Regions from separate parts of the Homo sapiens genome. Here all the other regions are linked to region 2. The links are contacts of gene promoters, found by promoter capture Hi-C in blood cells and fetal thymus (Javierre and others, 2016). All regions are on one chromosome and are shown on one strand. The core of a region is centred on a gene start or on the middle of the fragment in contact, and the rest is flanking DNA. Distances in the headings are between cores, read along the strand shown.

Evidence for each region. The method cuts DNA at HindIII sites, captures the fragments that hold promoters and counts their contacts. A CHiCAGO score of 5 or more calls a contact.
Region 1: a contact is called between a fragment that was not itself captured here and the fragment with the promoter of GML in region 2, in 1 of 17 cell types (naive CD8 T cells). The highest score is 5.1, in naive CD8 T cells.
Region 3: a contact is called between the fragment with the promoter of LY6S-AS1 here and the fragment with the promoter of GML in region 2, in 2 of 17 cell types (naive CD4 T cells and total CD8 T cells). The highest score is 6.9, in naive CD4 T cells.

What each region holds. Positions count from the first base shown.
Region 1 is chr8:142,992,313-142,996,433 of GRCh38, reverse strand. All of the region lies in intron 1 of LY6E-DT (LY6E divergent transcript), which reads left to right. It also overlaps the pseudogene CDC42P3. Among named protein-coding and RNA genes, the nearest start is that of LY6E-DT, 24 kb to the left of the region's middle. RefSeq lists an enhancer at 3,624-4,121. The HindIII fragment of the contact is 3,439 bases long and covers 813-4,121 here.
Region 2 is chr8:142,833,163-142,837,510 of GRCh38, reverse strand. GML (glycosylphosphatidylinositol anchored molecule like) reads right to left here and starts at 2,710. Exons shown (of 4, transcript NM_002066.3): 1 at 2,643-2,710. The HindIII fragment of the contact is 21,811 bases long and covers 1,513-4,348 here.
Region 3 is chr8:143,036,090-143,040,583 of GRCh38, reverse strand. LY6S-AS1 (LY6S antisense RNA 1) reads right to left here and starts at 1,375. Exons shown (of 6, transcript NR_149322.1): 1 at 1,015-1,375. RefSeq lists an enhancer at 1,152-1,703. The HindIII fragment of the contact is 8,465 bases long and covers 658-4,494 here.

The sequences.
Region 1 (4,121 bases), core at 1,283-3,782, 160 kb before region 2:
GCCAATATTGCTTCATCAAATACATTCCTTAGGCCTTTCTGTGTGAGTGCAGAACACACCACATACCTGACAGCCTTCAGGTCACGGATCAGCTTTTCAGCAGTCTCTGGAGTGGTGGGCTTCTGTTTGTTCTTGGCAAGTTTCTCAATAGTAGAGGGGTCATCTCTGAGATGAATTAGGGTCCCAACAAGCAAGAAATGAGTCTTTGGACAGTGGTGAGTTATCTTAGACACCCACTTTCCTTTCACATTTTCAAATGAAGATGGAGAGACCACTGAAAAACAGACTGGAAATACATCTGTTTGTAGATAACTCAGCGGTCATAATCTGTCATCATCGTCTTGCCCTGCAGTATCAAAAAGTCCAAGAGTATATGTTTCTCCACCAATCATAACAGTGACTGCATAGTTGTCAAAAACAGTTGGTACATATTTTGATGGAAATTTGTTTGTTGTGTAGGATATCAGGAGACATGTTTTACCAACAGCACCATTGCCCACAAAAACACACTTAATTGTCTGCATTGCTGAAATAAGTTTGTATCCACTTTAAATATTTCAAATCTGATGTTGACCTCAGCTTCTTCACTGGGGCATTAGCAGCACTCTACAGCTTTTCACAACTGGGTAAAGTACCCTCCTGTGAGTAAACTCTGAAGTACATTTCTGTCTACCTGATTTCTGTAGAAATTTGAAAACTATTTGCAAGTATACTTAATTTACGGCAGTATAGTTATTTGCATAAGTTCAATAAGAATGTATTTTCTTTTGTAACAGGACATAATTGGAGACACTGGTTATTTTACCAAAGCTTTGACCGGAAGGATGTACTTTTGGATACAAACAGACTGCTTTAAGGAGTCAAAGCTGACTTATGAAGTTGGCCTCATCCCTTGTCTACACAGTCACTGTACAGAGTTCCTTGCCTGTAGTATGTAAAGAATGTCACTTTCTGACAGGCTCAGGAGCCCCAAATTATCCTGGGACCTTGAGGAGAGGACATTGCCCAATTTATATAGGTATTTTCAGGCACCAATAAATCATGGCTGGGCTCAAGGCTTTAAAAAAAGTCAAATCTGGGATTCGTTATAGAATAAAGTTCCAGCAAAGCCAATTTTAAGACAGGCCTATATGGCAAATAATTATTCGTGCTGACATTATGCAAACACTCAGGCCAAGTATAAGATGAAAAATTATTTTAAATAAATTTGTCCTACTATGATTTGTCTTCAGTAAAAACAGGTACTGGGCTGGGCATGGTGGCTCACAGCTGTAATCCCAGCACACTGGGAGGCCAAGGCAGGCAGATCGCTTGAGGTCAGGAGTTTGAGACCAGCCTGGCCAACATGGTGGTGAAACACCATCTCTACCAAAAAATATAAAAATTAGCCAGGTGTGGTGGCATGTGTCTGTAATCCTAGCTACCCAGGAGGCTGAGGCATGAGAATTGCTTGAACCCAGGAGGTGGAGCTTGCCTGAGTCCTGGTAAGGCACAGACAGAAAGGGTTGTCAGCCATTTTTTTCTGAGGTTATAAGATCTGCAACTTCCCCAGTTATTCCTGCAGATAACACCACTATTGTAGATTGGCTTTTTGAGAAATCTTTTCCAGTGTTTGTGCATGACCGTGGCTCCACCTGGACCCACCTGGACCTGCCAATCCCACTCGTGTGACCCCACCCAGAAGTGACTCAGTCCTTAGGACTCAGCGTTGACCCCCTGTGATTTCATCTCTGCTCTAAGCAATCAGCAGCAAGCACCTATTACCTGGCCTCCCCAACTCCTTCCCCTAAAACTGTCTTTGAACAACCCCTAACCTGTGAGTTTTGCATGAGGTTGTTTGAGTGCTAACTCCATCTCTGTAGCGTGGCCAGCCTTTTGTCTATTAAACTCTTTCCTTATTGCAATGCCATGGTCTTTCTTTATGCAGCAGGCAGGAAGAGCCCCTTCAGTGTTTACAAAGTCTTACCTGCACAGAGAGGTCCCAGAGAGGCTGGCTGGGCACTGGGGATCTGGGGCTACCGTTGTTGATGGTCAATGAGACATGGAGTGGGAGCCTCCCACCCTGACATACCTAAAGAAGACACCACCTCCTATTTGGCAAAAGGTCCTTTCTTCCCACCAGCCTCACACTCCTGGTCCTGACGGCCACCTCCTACCGTGCTAGGGTCCCACACCCTGGGCTTCCTCCACACCAGTCAGTGGTTGGTGTTGGTGGGGAATCTTAGAGTCACCCTCTCAGACTCCCACTGAGGGGGACTGGTCTCCCTGTCCCTGGGGCTAGCCTGGAGCTGGGCCTGCCAGTGGTCACCTGTCTGAGCATGGGTTAGGAGGCTGGGAGGGCTGCCCACCACTCCAGGGCCTGCCTCCAGCTGCCTCCAGTTGCCTCCAGCTGCCTCCAGTTGCCTCCACCCTCAGGCACTCCTGGCCCCATGGTGCTTGAACAGGGCAGGGCAGGCTAGCTGGCTGAGGGCAGGGGGTTCCACGTCAGCGTTCTGAGGACTAAACTCTGGCCCTTTTTTCTTCTTTTGCCCAAATTCCTACCTAAGAGGCCTGGGGAGTGTGCCCTACAGACCGTAGAGTCTCTCAAATGGGTTTTATTTAACCCCACATAACACGGCTGCCTTTCCAGCCTGACTGTGGTGTAGCATCACATGACGGACAAGGAAGGAAATGAGGTATTTTAAATGCATATACGTTTATTTGCCATATCTTGAAGTAGCCGTGCAAAGTTGTCTCTTGTGGGAGAAACATCTACAGTCTGTAGAGAATCCCCTTCTTCTGAGGCCTTTTTCCTGACCCAGGAGAGAATCAGCTAAGGGACTGACACCCTTTTAGATCTGATAAGAAACATTTACATTCCATTCTCCCTGAAGCCTGCTATCTGGAGGCTTTACCTGAATGAGAAGAATCTTGGTGTCGCAATCCCTTATCTTAACCCAGACATTCCTTTCTATGGATTCCAAGTCTTTTTTTTTTTTTTTAGACAAGTCTTGCTCTGTTGCCCAGGCTGGAGGGCAGTGGCGCGATCTTGGCTCACTGCAACCTCTGCCTCCTGGGTTCAAGCGATTCTCCCATCTCAGCCTCCTGAGTAGCTGGGATTACAGGTGTGTGCCACCACACCCAGCTAATTTTTGTATTTTTGTAGAGATTTCTACAAAAATGTCAACACGGGGTTTCACCATGTTAGCCAGGCTGGTCTTGAACTCCTGACCTCAGGTGATCTGCCTGCCTTGGCCTCCCAAAGTGCTGGGATCACAGGCGTGAGCCACTGAGCCCAGCTACAAATGATTTTTTTTTTTTTTTTTGAGACGGAGTCTTGCTTAGTCACCCAGGCTGGAGTGCAATGGTGTGATCTTGGCTCACTGCAACCTCCACCTCCTGGGTTCAAGTGATTCTCCTACCTCAGGCTCCCAAGTAGCTGGGATTACAGGCACCTGCCACCATGCCTGGCTAATTTTTGTACTTTTAGTAGAGATGGGGTTTCACCATGTTGGCCAGGCTGGTTTCGAACTCCTAACCTCAGGTGATCTGCACGCCTTGGCCTCTCAAAGTGCTGGGATTACAGGCGTGAGCCATGGCGACCAGCCATACAAGTGAATTTTTAAAGGCAAAAAGGGGGCAGAGTGTGGCTGATATAACGTTGTTTGTCAGGAATTCTGATTGGTTCACAGAAGTGACATTGCTGGGTGATTGGCTGGACATGGTTAAGCTCCAGGGTGTGGGTTTTCGTTTCCAGTGTGGCATTATCAGGTGAATTCATAGCTGCTGGCAATGGCAACCACCGGAGATGAGTCCATAGCTCAAGGTAGTAGAAGGAAGCACCTGCTGTCTCATGTCAGTATCTCTCTGGGCCTGATAATAGAAAAAGACTCACATTTCTCAGATAATAGTTCTTTTCTTTTCTCACTCCCAGCAGGGTGAGTGGCAGCCTGCTTCCCAGACACCATTGGGCACACAGCCAATTGGAGGGGGAGAGGACCCTGCATTTGAAGCAGGAGCTGGCCTCTGTTGATGCAGGTTCAGTACAGCCCCAGCCCCTTCCTTCCTGCTTGCAGGGACACAGAATCCCTGCAGTTCCCTTTTCCCTGCCCCCACCCACGCCAGCTGGGCTCTGCTATGGC
Region 2 (4,348 bases), core at 1,461-3,960:
ACTGCCTGCGGTAACCTGAAACCAGTTTTATCTGATGGCTACTGAGACCACCTGCTGCAACTCTAAGCCTCGGTTCACCCACTGCTGTCACTGATTCACTCATCAACCAGAGCTTGCCAGCTCCCCAAAATCCTACTAGTGCCAATGAAACTCAGACAGCAATATGTACTATTTCTCTTCTTTATAAAAAAGAGACATAGTTTCTTTTTTTGAAACAGAGTCTCGCTCTGTCCTGCAGGTTGGAGTTGGAGTGCAATGGCGTGATCTCGGCTCACTACAACCTCCACCTCCAGGGTTCAAGCAGTTCTCCTGCCTCAGCCTCCTGAGTAGCTGGGACTATGGGCGCACGCCACTACGCCCAGCTAATTTTTGTATTTTTAGTAGAGACGGGGTTTCACTATGTTGGCCACGCTGGTCTTGAACTCCTGACCTCAAGTGATCTGCCTGCCTCAGCCTCCCAAAGTGCTGGGATTACAGGTGTGAGCCACTGCAAATTTTAAAAATCCTTCTCTTTGTTCTTTGGACATACTGAATGCCAGCCCGTCTACCCCCATGCCCCTAATTACAATTATTTCCTCCGAAAGAAAAGATTTCAATTTCAGAAAGTCATCTATTTTATTTGACTTCAACACGAGACAAGCCACACTCTGTAGGAGAAGGGGAAGGGCACCGCTCAAGATGGCTTCAGTTAGGGTTAGAGACAGGGCCGGCTCCAGAGGCAGCCAGGGTCAGGTTGAAGCTGCAAGCATCCCACTTGGCCTCCACCTTTGAGCAAGCCAGTAGTCCAGGCCTTCCCACAGGCTCCTGGAGAGAGGAGAGGGCACACATCCCCAGTAGTAACATACAACCACCTCCAAGCTTTCCAGCTATTTTGTACGCAACGCAAGATGTTCAATAAAAACATCACAGGATATGTAAGAATTAGGAATAAATTATTGCTAATCAATAAAACAACAATAGAAATAAACCCACAGTTCACTCAAATGTTGACATTAGCATACAAGTACTTTAAAAATTCTAATGAGAGCATTAAAGAGAAAAAGATTACTAAATTGATTTTTTAAAGATGAAAAAATTTTAAAAATAACAGGATGTGTAAGAGGCAGAAATAAGGGACTATAGTATGAATTATTTCTACACCACCATACTTCTGACCCTAAATATGTGAGTTTTTACACACAAACCAGTTCTCCAACTCTCTGGACACTGACCGTCCAACATTTCAATTCAATTCTGACACTGCCTTGAGCAGGGCAGACCCCACAGGTGAAGGGCTCAGTCCCACCCTAATGCCCCCACTTCAGATGCCAATCACAAGTCTGGGCCACGTGTACTTCTGACTGCCCAGTTATAAATCAAGGGTTTCCAAGACCACCTCCTCCTAGATAATTTGCTAGAACAGCTTACAGAGCACAAGAAAACAGTTTACTTACTATTACCAGTTTATCACAAAGGTGACAACTCAGGAACCGTGAAACGGAAGAGATGCATGGGGCAAATACAGGGTAAGCTTAAGATGGCTTCAGACAAAAAGAGTAGGAATATCTTATTATCAGCAGACCCACTACAAGAAATATTGAGTTCATAACATATATAGAAATAAAGTATATGACAATATCACAAAGCAAAGGAGGCTGTAGAACTGAAAGGCAGAAACAGTTACGTCAGCGTCGGCGAGTGCAGGCTTCCAGGCAAAAAACATTGCAAGAGGTGACAAGGACAGACACTTCAGAGCCGAATGCAGTTTCGGACACTGAGAGTCCATTTTCTGACTATGGTGGCATTAAGCAATAAGTCACCCCAGAAGGATTAACTGGAAAATCCTCATCTGTTTGGAACTTAAGAACACACCTCCAAATAAGAAATAGACCCCCAAATCCTTCTCAATAGAAGTCAAGAATATTTTGGGCAAAGTCATAATAAAGAATGAAAAATAGAAACCTGGCAGAAGTAGCCTGAAGGGACACGGAAGGAAAAGCAGGGCTCCATTAGAAAAGGCAAAAAGACTGGAAACGAAGGCCTCCTTCTCTCCTTCGAAAGCAAGGAGCCAGAAAAGAACGAGCAGCAGAACGTGGAACAGGCTGCGGCCCGAGACCCGCGCCTTGGGGAATCACAGACAGTGTGGGGGTGGGCGGCCCCGGGACACCCCGAGGGAAGGGGACTCAAGAACTGAACGGAGCCCCAGCCCCAGACTCTCGAGGGAAGTTGAGCTGTAAGGGGAGGGGGGCCCCAGGGAAGCGGAGTTGGGGTGCTGGCATCTCCCTGGGACCCCTGAGCATAGTTGGGGGGTCTCCCTGGGACCCTGATGGGAGTGGAGCTCGAGAGGTCCCCCAGTACCCCTGAGAGGAGCTGAATTAGGGGGTCTCCCTGGGACCCTGAGGGGAATGGAGCAGGGGGCGTCTCCCCAGGAACCTGCGGGGAGTGGAGTTTTGAGGGGTCCCCCTGGCACCCCTGAGAGGAGCTGAGTTCGGGGGGTCTCCCTGGGGCTCCGAGGGGAGTGGGGGCACCCCATCCAGGGAAGCGCGGCGCACCCCCGGCGGCGTCCTGGCGGCCCAAGCAGCTGACGAGGAGGCTGCCTCAGCTGGGCCCCTGGGCAGACTCCAGTCTCACGCCTGGGTCCCGACCCGCCTCAGGAAACTGACCTGTGCCCCTCGGAGCCCCGCAGTGTGCGTGCCCGCCGCCTCCAGCCATCTGAGCCTCCCGCGCCGACCTCCCCACCCGCTTTCTGGAACTTTCGGGGGCCTCCGCCGGCCGCACAGCCCCGCCCTCCTTCCGGACCCTCAAAGCCCCGTCCCCAGGCTCCAGGCCTCCAGCCCATCTGCCAGTGTTCAAAGGTGGGCAGGGTCCCCCTTGGGGCTCCCAGGTGAAAATATTTCTCACAGAAATCTGCACACCCTGGCTCCATCCACGCTCCCTTTAGGAAAGCCACGGGGAATGTTCTAGAAGCGCACGGCCCTGGCTGCTGGAGAAACGGGACAGCAGCCACCCTCGGCAGCCTGTTGGCACCGCCCAGGCCCACCCTGCCCTCAAGGTCCCAGTCCACCTGCCTCGTTCCTGGACCCTCCCTCTAGGGGGTCCCGCCATCACCATAACCCCTGGGGACCCCGGGAGCCCCTCCGCTCAGGGTGCGACCCCGTCGCCTCTGGAGCCGGCCCTGTCCCTAACCCTGACCAAAGCCAGCTTGAGCGGTGCCCTTGCCCTTCAGCCCCGCCAGCGCCCACCTGTGCAGAGGTTTCAGGGGGAGACCTGCCTGGCTTTCGCTTGAGCTCCTGCCATTTTGCCTTCAAGCTGTGTGTGGCCAGGGACAGCTGGCTTCACCCGAGCATCTCCTACACAGTGTGGCTTGGCTCTTGTCGAAGTCATATAAAATAGGTGAATTTCTGAAATTGAAATGTTTTATTTGGGAGGAAATAACTGCAATTAGGGGCACGGGGGCAGACTGGCTGGCCTTCAGTATGTCCAAAGAACAAAGAAAAGGCTTTTTTAAATTCGCGGTGGCTTACACCTGTAATCCCAGCATTTTGGGAGGCTGAGGCGGGCAGATCATTTGAGGTCAGGAGTTCAAGACCAGAGTGATCAACATGGTGAAACCCCGTCTCTACTAAAAATACAAAAATTAGCTGGGTGTGGTGGTGTGTGCCTGTAGTCCCAGCTACTCAGGAGGCTGAGGCAGGAGAATCCCTTGATCCCAGGAGGTGGAGGTTGTAGTGAGCCGAGATCGTGCCATTGTGCTCCAACCTGCAGGACAAATCAAGTCTCTGTCTCAAAAAAAAAGGAACTATGTCTCTTTTTTATAAAGAAGAGAAATAGTACATATTGCTGTCTGAGTTTCATTGGCACTAGTAGGATTTTGGGGAGCTGGCAAGCTCTGGTTGATGAGTGAATCAGTGACGGCAGTGGGTGAACCGAGGCTTAGAGTTGCAGCAGGTGGTCTCAGTAGCCATCAGATAAAACTGGTTTCAGGTTACCGCAGACAGTTTCAGCAGTCAGGCCTCAGAGAAGTACATTCTTGGAGCAATGTTTTCTATCCTGAGTGCTGAATGGTCTCCCTACCTGGCACTCTGCCTTAGTTGGGTGTGACAAGGGTGACCCAATTTGTATGCTCACCTTTCACACCGAATCCTCAGCTCGGACGGGTTTCCCTTTCTAGGCTTTGACTTTCCCCTTGAACCTCATCCCACACACCTGTTCCATCGGGGCCACTGGCTTATGATGGAGACCAGTGGTATGACTGTGGCAGGCTCCTTCTAGGGGCACTCTGTCTCCTGGGATCTGCCACACTGGGGGGGATTCTACTTGGCCTTCTCTGACTCCCCAGGGTCCCTCCCACCACAGCACTTGGAGGCTC
Region 3 (4,494 bases), core at 126-2,625, 200 kb before region 2:
GCCATGCCGGGAGCCACATCTCGTGACCAGGTCCTGGCCTTCCACGCTGGCCAGACGCCTGCATCCAAGACGTCCTGGTCCCTCTGACTGCACAGTGTGACAGCCACCACCCAGCCATGCCCTGTACTCCTGGATGTGATTTGCTAATTAGGGTCAATGGGGTAAGATGCCCAATTAAATATGAATTTCAGATAAACAATTTTTAGCATAAGTATGTCCCAAACATTGGTAAAAATGACTATTTGTTGTTTATCTGAGATTCAGATCAAACTGGGCATCTTGGACATTTTATTTGCTCAACTAGAAATTCATGAGTGCCTAAGGAGCTCAAGGGACATTCCAGACCCCCCAAATCTGTGTCGGACACAGGGGCAGTCACAATGGGGTGCAGTGGTTGTACCTGGTGACTCAGGACATTCGTCTACCTCCTCATGTCCCCCCTGCCTCTAGCACCACAGTGTCATGCCCTACCCTCCAGGGGGCCCAGAAAGCAGTGCTTTTGCCCAGGGCCATTGTCCCCTAGATAGAGGGTTCAGCCCAAGGAGGGCAGCCCTGATTCCCAAGCCTCCTGCAGCACTGACTCTCCACTGCAGCAGGCCTGGGGTTTCTGGCCATGGCTCGCCTTTGGCTCACCTCTCCAGAAGGTCTCTGGAAGCTTCTTCCCCACAGGGTCCTCCCTTCCACTGTAACCTTCCCTGGTTCTGGGAAACAAACTTGAGAGGCCCAGGCGCACCCCACCTCTTCTCTTTAGGTCTCCACAGCTTTTCCTCTGCCTCGTCCCCAAGGGGATCACTCTGGCCTTTCCCCTCTCCAGTGACCCTCTCCACACCCTCCCGGCTTCCCCCTTCCTCTGAGCACCCCAGATGCCAAAGGACAAGGTGAGGGAGCCTTTGGAGAAATGTTGCCTGACGTCACTGGTCCCCCACGCTCGGGGGACCCACACGGCCCGCCCTGCAGGCAGCCCCCTCCCCGCAGGCAGCCCCCTCCCCGCAGGCCGCCCCCTCCCCACCTCACCTCACAGCTGCAGGGGTCGGGGCTCGGAAGTGCTGGGGGCAGTTCAGGTTGAAGGCTGGGCAGCGTGCACTTCTCCCCCAGCCTCCTGGGGCCCGGGCATCACCGGAAGCGGAGTTTGTTCCCACTTTGTATCAGTCGCAAAGAAAGAGCACCCAATTGGACAAAAGGCAAGCAGGCTGCGTTCCTGGCCCGGAGTGGAGAAGAGTGAGCCCCTGCCCTGTCAGGGAAGCTGAGGCTGGGGGTTGTGAGGAGTCCCGTGCCGGGAGGAGGCTGCAGGAGCGCCTCAATGCACCTCTTGATACCACGCATGCTTAGCAAGGCCTGGGGACTGTCCTCTCGGGCAGGACTTCCGCCTTGTAATGACATGTCGCTGATTTAAAGGGAACTGGGGGTCACCAGCTCTGGTTTGTGCAAGTCTGGTGCGTTCTTATCTCCCTTGTATTTGGCAGGGGATCCTAAACCTCTCCTGGTATGTTGAGACATCTGGAGCTCATTAAGCCTCGGCGCCTGTAGATAAAGAGATTAAAGGAAAAAAGAAAAGAAATCCCGCCCTGGGGCAGCTGGGGTAGGATTAGCCTGGAGGCCACGCCTCTGCAGGGTCTCCCATAGGCTGGGCCAGCCTCTGCCCTCCCTGCTTCCAGAACCCCGGACGCTGATGGCCTGTGGCGGCCACTCTCCGCCCACCCCGGAGCCCAGCCTAGCGGGGAGAAGGCCGCCGGCCCGTTCGAATGTCCCTCTGCTTCCAGGGTCAGCCTGCACGCCACTCTCACAGAGGCCAGACGGGCGGTGGGGCGGGGACTCAGTTCATCCTCTGCCTGAGGAGCAGGTCTCGGGTGCGACTGAGCTTTTCACCCTTTGAGAGGAGTCAGGGACACGCAGCGTCTCCAGCAAGCTGGTGGCAGAAACTGATGGAGCATCCTAATCACAAAATAGGAAGAGAGTTTGCAAAATAGGAGCATTTACCAGAAGCCTCTCTCTCTCCCTCCCTCCCTCCCTCCCTCTCTCTCTCTCTCCCTCTCTCTCTCTCTCTCTCTCTCTCTCTCTCTCTCTCTCTCTCTCTCTCTCTCTCTCTCTCTCTCTCTCTCTCTCTCTCCCTCCCTCCCTCTCTCCCTCTCTCTCTCCCTCCCTCCCTCTCTCTCTCCCTCCCTCCCTCTCTCCCTCCCTCCCTCTCTCTCTCTCTGTGTGTCTCTCAAGTAGAAGTGGGGTCTCTATGTTGCCCAGGCTGCTCTCGAACTCCGAGGCTCAAGCGATCCTCCTGCCTCAGCCTCCCAAAGTGCTGCGATTACAGGTGTGAACTACTGGGCCCAGCCCCAGGCCCTCTTACAGGAGTGGGCTGCCTAGAAACATTCCAGTGCCATATCCCACTCCACTCCGGGTGCAGGGACAGGACCCCTGCCACCCCCAACCCAGGCCCAAAAGGAGGGGCCAGGAGGGGAGGGGCCACCAAGGCAGGTGAGCTGCTTAAGAGGAGCGAGGGCTGTGGACAGTCCTGCGGACTGCAGGAGGGGCCAGCAGGATCAATATCCAGCTTCTCTCTCCTGCTGGGCTCCTGCTGGGGCTCCCTGTTGGTCACCCCAAAACCTACTGTCTCTCATCGCTGCCGGGGCTGGCCAGGCTCAGCTGCTGGTTCTGCCTTGGGGCACCTCCTAGGTGGAGTCAGGGTGGCTGAAGGCTTCCCCACTCATGCGTCCACTGTCTGGACATCCTGCCCCTGCCCGACCTCCAGGAGTTGCAGTGTGTGAAGGCCACACCACAGCCCCTCTCTGCTGCCTCCCTCATGTCTCCTCCAGAATGATGCTCTTAACCCCCTCATTAGAGGCCCCCATCCTTCCCAACTGTACCTCTTGACACCCTGAGTACAGTTCAAGAGACCCTGAAGAAACTCAGAAAAGTGACAACTGGAGGCTCTGGGAGAGAAGAGTGAAGTCACTCACATTTGTTTTTATTTACTTATTTTTTTTTTAGAGATGAGGTCTTGCTTTGTTGGCCAAGCTGGTCTCTTGAACTCCTGGCCTCAAATGATCCTCCCATCTTGGTCTCCCAAAGTGTTGAGATTACAGGTGTGAGCCATTCTCTCCGGCTTACTCTGCGTTTTACAGGATGGGATGTGTTGATGAAAGAAAGCCAAACTCTAAAATATTTGAAGAGGTTTATTCTGAGCCAAATGTGAGGACCATGACCTCACATGACAGAGACTCAGGAGGTTCGGGGAACATGTGCCCAAGGTGGCCGGGGTACAGCTCGATTTTATACCCTTTAGGGAGAAAGAAGTTACAGGATGAGATGGTTTGGATTTGTGTCCCCGCCCAGATCTCATGTGGAATTGGCGGAGGGGCCACGTGGGAGGTGATTGGATCGTGGGGTCAGACCTCCCCCTTGCTGTTCTGGTGATAGTGAGTGAGTTCTCAGGAGATCTGATGGTTTGAAAGTGTGACGTGTCCCCCTTCGCTATTTCTCCCTTGGGCTCAAGGGATCCACCTGCCTCGGCTTCCCAAAGTGTTGGGATTACAGGTGTGAGCCACTGCGCCCGGCTGAAGACTCTGTTGATCCTGATTTTTTCCCCATTGCTATTATGGCTGTTTTTCTCCTCTTCTTTTCTTGACTGGTCTCCCACAAGAATTATCCACATTTTTAAGGCTGGGCGTGGTGGCTCACACCTGTAATTCCAGCACTTTGGGAGGTTGAGGCAGGTGGATAATTTTAGGTCAGGAGTTTGAGACCAGCCTGGCCAACATGGTGAAACCTCATCTCTACAAAAAATAACAAATATTAGCCGGGCATGGTGCACAAGCCTGTAATCCCAGCTACTTGGGAGGCTGAAACACAAGAATTGCTTGAACCTGGGAGGCGGAGGTTGCAGTCAGCTGAGATTGCACCACTGCACTCCAGCCCTGGCAACAGAGTGAGACCCTGTCTCAAAAAAAAAAAAAAAAAAAAAAAAAAGCAAGAGTTATCAAAGTTTTTAGTTTATCCAAAGAAATAACTAACTTGTGTATCCTAATATGTACATAATTTCCATATTATTAATTTCTGATGTCACTTTTATTCGTTTCTTTCTTCCGTTTTTTTGGATTCCATTTGCTGTTCTTCCTGTAATTTCTTGTGATGAATGCTTCATTCATTAATGTTGAATCTTTTTTTTTTTTTGAGATGGAGTCTCTCTCTTGTCACCCAGGCTGGAGTGCAATGGCGCGATCTCGGCTCACTGCAACCTCCCGGGTTCCAGCTGCCCTCCCGTCCAGCTGCCCTCCCGGGTTCCAGCGATTCTCCTGTCTCAGCCTCCCAAGTAGCCGGGATCACAGGTGTGTGCCACTAGGCCCAGCTAATTTTTGTATTTTTAGTAGAGACAGGGTTTCACCCTGTTGGCCAGGCTGGTCTCCAACTCCTGACCTCCGGCCTTGGCCTCCCAAAGTGCTGGCATTACAGGCATGAGCCACCGTGCCTAGCCTGAATGTGTTTTTAATGTATGAAGGTAAGGGC